Regions from separate parts of the Homo sapiens genome. Here region 1 is linked to region 2. The links are contacts of gene promoters, found by promoter capture Hi-C in human tissues and cell types (Jung and others, 2019). All regions are on one chromosome and are shown on one strand. The core of a region is centred on a gene start or on the middle of the fragment in contact, and the rest is flanking DNA. Distances in the headings are between cores, read along the strand shown.

Region 1 (2,827 bases), core at 176-2,675, 40 kb before region 2:
GAAGGTGCAGTCTTGAGGCAGAATTTCTTCCCCAGGGAACCCTGTTTTTCTCTTAAGGCCTTTCAACTGATTAGATAAGAACCACCTACATTATCAAAATAACTGATTATAGATGTTAACCGTTTCTATGAAATACCTTCATAACAATACCCTGGTCAGTGTTTAATACAATTTCTGGGTAGTACAGCCTAAACAAGTTTACACATATAGTTGGCAATCATACTCTACCCCTTGTCACCTTAAACCATCTTTAATCTTCAAATAAATACAGTAAAAAAGGCTTATTTTGGCCAGGTGTGGTGGCTCACACCTGTAATCCCAGTACTTTGGGAGGCTGAGGTGGGTGGATCACTCGAGGTGAGAAGTTCGAGACCATCCTGGCAAACATGGGGAAGTCTCTACTAAAAATACAAAATTAGCCAGGCGTGGTGGCACACACCTGTAATCCCAGCTAGTCAGGAGGCTGAGGCAGGAGAATCGCTTGAACCCAGGAGGCAGAGATTGAAGTAAGCTGGGATCGGGCCACTGCACTCCAGCCTGGCGACAGAGCGAGACTCCGTTTCAAAAGAAAAAAAAAAAAGATTAAAAAAAATAGAGATGGGGGTCTTAATATGTTGCCCAAGCTGGTCTTGAATTCCTGGCCTCAAGCAATCTTCTCACGTTGGCTTCCCAAAGTGCTGGGATTACAGGCGTGAGCCACAGCACCCAGCCCTGGATATTATATGCTTGCTTGAAAGCCTGTGGCAGGAAATCCACTTCCTACCCCAATCTCCACATGGCTCAGCCCCTCATCTCCCTATAGACTTTGATCTATGTCACATTCTAAATAAGCTGTTTCCTGATCATTCTAATGAAAATTGCAAACAACTCCCCAAACTCTGACACCCTGATCCACCTTACTCTCCTTTTCCTTCTTTTTGTTATAGCACTGGTTAACTTATCATGTCTATTTCTGTATTATAATTATTGTTTATTTCTGACTTTTCATCCAGAATGTTAGCTCCATGAGGGTAAGCGTCAGTGATGATTTTGTTCACTGCTGGATCCTAAGTTTTTTTTTTGTTTGTTTGTTTTTTTAATTGAGACAGGGTCTTGCTCTGTCACCCAGGCTGGAGTGCAGTGGTGCGACCTCAGTTCACTGCAGACTTGATCTCCCAGGCTCAATCGATCCTACCACCTTAGCCTCCCAAGTAGCTGGGACTACATGCAGCTATGCCACCATGCTCGGCTAATTTTTATTTTTATTTTTGTAGATGGGCTTTTGCCATATTGCCCAGGCTGGTCTCAAATTTCTGGGCTCAAGCAATCTGCCCATCTCGGCCTCTCTAAGTGCTGGGATTGCACGTGTGATCCACCATCCCTGGCCTGTATCTCTAGTCTTTTAAACCATGTCTGGCACACAGCAGACACACAAGAGATATCTCAATAAGATCTAATGGAACCCTGGCTCACAATCCTGAAAAATGATGGACTGAAAAACTCTCTCTGGGAAGCCAAGGCAGAAAGATTGCTTGAGGCCAGGAGTTTGAGATCAGCCTGGGTAACATAGTGAGACACCATCTCTACAAAAAAATTAAAAAGTAGCTGGGTATGGTGGTGCACAACTGTCGTCCCAGTAACTCAGGAGGCTGAGGCTGGAGGATCGCTTGAGCTTAGGAGGTTGAGGCTGCTGTGAGCTGTGATGGTGCCACTGTATTCCAGCCTGGGTGACAGAGGGAGACGTTGTCTCAAAAAAAAAAAAAAAAAAGTTGTTAAGAGCTGAGCATGGTGGCTCACACCTGTAATCCTCAAAACTTGGGAAGCTGAGATGGGAAGATCACTTGAACCCAGGAATTTCAGGCTGCAGTGAGCAATGAACCTGCCACTGCACTCCAGCCCAGGCAACAGAGCAAGCCCCCAACTCTTAAAAAATTTTTAAAATAAAAAAAATTGTATTGAAGTTATCTTTGTTACTTTTATATTTTACATGTGTGTTGCTGCTTTGCATAAGCTTATATTTAGGATGTCAAAAGGCTTAAGACAATCTGATTTATTAAATGTGTAAGTCTTACTGGGTTTACGAGAGTAGCTCAAGGGTGTTTTTATTTTATTAAAGGTCACTCTGCTGCCCAGGATGTAGTTGCAGTGGAGTGACCATAGTTTTCTGCAGCCTTGACTTTTTTTTTTTTTTTTTTTTTTTTTTTTGAGATGGAGTCTCTCTCTGTCGCCCAGGCTGGAGTGCAGTGGCGTGATCTTGGCTCACTGCAACCTCTGCCTCCCGGTTCAAGCAATTCTCCTGCCCCACCCTCCCGAGTAGCTAGGATTACAGGCACCTGCCACCATGCCTGGCTAATTTTTTTGTATTTTTAGTAGACACGGGGTTTCACCATGTTGGCCAGGCTGGTCTCGAACTCCTGATCTCATGACTCACCCACCTTGGCCTCCCAAAGTGCTGGGATTACAGGCGTGAGCCACCATGCCCAGCCAACATTTTAGGCCGAAGCAATCCTCCTACCTCACCCTCCCAAGTAGATGTGACTGTGGGTGTGTACCACCATGCCCAGCTAATTTATTTTTTAATTTTTTGTAAAGACAGGTTCTTGCCATGTTGCCCAGTCTGGTCTTGAACTCCTGGGCTCAGGTGATCCTCCCACCTCAGCCTCCCAAAATGTTGGGATTACAGGCATGAGCCACCCACACTTGGCAGCTTAAGAGTTTAAAAACGACATTATAAGACTTTGCAAGAGGCTAGGCGTGGTGGCTCATGCCTATAATCCCAGCACTTTGGGAGGCCAAGGTCAAGGTGAGAGGATCCCTTGAGCCCAGCAGCTCAAGATCATCCTTGGCA
Region 2 (2,810 bases), core at 1-2,500:
ATATATAAAATCACTCCACCCCTTTCCGTTCACCTGCAGGCTTGCTCTGTCTCTCAGGCTGGAATGCAGTGGCAAGATCCTTGCTCACTGCAGCCTTGACCTCTTGGGCTCAATTGATCCTCCCACCTCAGCCTTCCAAGTATCTGGGACTATAGTAGTCCGACACGGCGGCTGGGATTCAGGCTGGCTGGGTCATTTTGCTTTTTTTTTCTTTTTTTTTTTTTTGAGATGGAGTCTCCCTCTGTCGCCCAGGCTGGAGTGCAGTGGCATGATCTCAGCTCACAGCAACCTCTGTGTTTTGGGTTCAAGCAATTCTGCCTCAGCCTCTTGAGTAGCTGAGTAGCTGGGACTACAGGTGTGTACCACCATGCCCAGCTAATTTTTGTATTTTTAGTAGAGACAGGATTTCACCATGTTGACCAGGCTGGTCTTGAACTCCTGACCTCAGGTGATCTGTCTGCCTCAGTCTCCCAAAGTGTTGGGATTACAGGCTTGAGCCACCGCACACCGCCAAGGGTCATTTGCTAATACGATCTTTGGATACCTCTTCTCCTGGGAGGAGGTCTAGTCTGGTGCATCCTGTCCCATGAAGTCTGGTTTAATCTCTTGGAATTCAGTTGGACGCTCAATTTTGGAAGGTCTCCATGTCTGCAGGCAAGGGCATGTAGCCTGTGTTTAAATTCAACACCCAGACTAGGGTGGGGATGGATTGGCATGTTGATCTCATTTTGAGAGTATTAGTACAGCTGAAGAGATTTTGCCAGTTGGAGGTTGGAGCCTGAATTCTTTCTGTCGGGCGGAGAGCACTTTAAGGCATTGTTCCACCTCCGCTGGCCCTATTTCTTTTTTCTTTTCCTTTCTTTTTTTTTTTTTGAGACGTGAGATGGAGTCTCGCTCATTGCCCAGGCTGGAGTGCAGTGGCACGATCTTGGCTCACTGAAGCCTCCGTCTCCCGGGTTCAAGCGATTCTCCTGCCTCAGCCTCCCAAGTAGCTGGGATTACAGGCACGTGCCACCATGACCAGCTAATTTTTGTATTTTTAGTAGAGACGGGGTTTCCCCATGTTGGCCAGGCTGGTCTTGAACTCCTGTCCTCCCAAAGTGCTGGGATTACAGGCATGAGCCACCGTGCCCAGCCAATTTTTGTTGTTTTAATTTATTTTCATCCTCTGACATTTGGATAATGTTTTCCATGCTTTCTATTTCAAAGTTAAGGTAAAAAATTTTTACTTGCATGAACTTAAAAAAAATTCCATTGGAAACTGATTGGGCAGATTTGAAAATTAAGCTTTCACAATCACAATTTTTATGAGAGTTCATTCAGTTTTGGAGAAGTCGAGGAAAGAATTGGGAATTGAAATTTTGATGTGGCCTGATAGGATCAGGTGGGGCTTTTGATAGGAAGTGAGTGTTTTGGGTTGTTTCTTGACTGGATTATGATGCGGAATACAGCGGGTAGAGGGCCGATTAAGTTTTAGTCATTAGTGTAGCTTTTCAGTATACACGCCTTTTCATTTTCAGTCCCTTTCAGAAGAAAAGACCACAGGCATCAGAAATCAATCAACTTGCTAATTTATGCCAGATTCCACTGGAGGTAAGCTGATTTTTTTTTCTCCCTGAAAACCAAATGTCTGGGTTTTGTTTGTTTGTTTGTTTTGCATTTTTACTTAGTTTCATTTTTCTACCTCTCCTATTTGCTGGAATAAGCTAAATATTTTACATTGGTAGTTTAGATTTTTTTTTTAGTTGTCATATTGAAAAGTGATGCTCCCAGGACACTCAAAATTATTTTCGTGGCCCTCCAGTCCTTAGCATTACTGCTGGCCCACAGCTACTTCTAAAAACTTTTTATTGACAAATAATAATTGTGTTTATTTATGGGGTACAATGTGATGTTTTGATACATGTTTACATTGGGGGGATGATTAAATCAAGCTAATTAATCTATTTTTGTGGTGAAAGCATTTACAATTTACTGTTTTTTAAAATTATATATATTTTTTGTGCTAGAATTGGACTCCTCAAACTTTAATAAACATTAAAGTTGTGCCCGGCAAGTTTATTCTTTTTAAAAACATATTTACTTATTTAAAACTTTATTCCTGGCTGGTGTGGTGGCTCATGCATGTAATCCCAGGATTTGGGGAGGCTGAGGGAGGAGGATTGCTTGAGCCTAGGAGTTTGAGACCAGTTTAGGTGACATAGCAAGATCCCTTCTTTACAAAAAATAAAAAGTTAGCTGATGTGGTAGCATGCACCCATAGTCTTAACTATTCAGGAGGCCAAGGTAGGAGGATTGCTTGAGCCAGGGATTTTTAAACTGCTGTGAGCCGGGATCACATCACTGCACTCCAGCCTGGGTGACAGAATGAGACCCTGCCTCAATAAAATAAAATAAAAAATAAAAACTTTATTACTTAAACATTGAGACAGAGGTTTCACTATGTTGCACAGGCTGGTCTCAAACTCCTGGGCTTGGCTGGATGTGGTGGTTCACGCCTATAATCCCAGCACTTTGGGAGGCTGAGGCCGGCGGATCACTTGAGATCAGCAGCTCGAGACCAGCCTGAACAACATGGTAAAACCTTGTCTCTACTAAAAATGCAAAAATTAGCTGGGCATGGTGGTGCATGCCTGTAATCCCAGCTACACGGGAGGCTGAGGCAGGGGAATCCCTTGAACCCGGGAGGCAGAGGTTGCAGTGAGCCGAGACTGTGCCACTGCACTCCAGCCTGGGCGACAGAGCAAGACTTGGTCTTAAAAAAAAAAAAAAAAAAGTAACTCCTGGGCTCAACTGATCCTCCCACCTTG

What was found. The method cuts DNA at HindIII sites, captures the fragments that hold promoters and counts their contacts. A contact is called where the count stands out against the background at its distance.
Region 1: a contact is called between a fragment that was not itself captured here and the fragment with the promoter of ZIM3 in region 2, in 1 of the 25 tissues and cell types used here (psoas muscle).

The regions. Positions count from the first base shown.
Region 1 is chr19:57,183,647-57,186,473 of GRCh38, reverse strand. No RefSeq gene overlaps it. Among named protein-coding and RNA genes, the nearest start is that of ZNF264, 6.4 kb to the left of the region's middle. The HindIII fragment of the contact is 3,949 bases long and covers 1-2,827 here.
Region 2 is chr19:57,143,642-57,146,451 of GRCh38, reverse strand. It overlaps ZIM3 (zinc finger imprinted 3), which reads left to right and starts at 1,250. Exons shown (of 5, transcript NM_052882.1): 1 at 1,250-1,593. The HindIII fragment of the contact is 26,155 bases long and covers 1-2,799 here.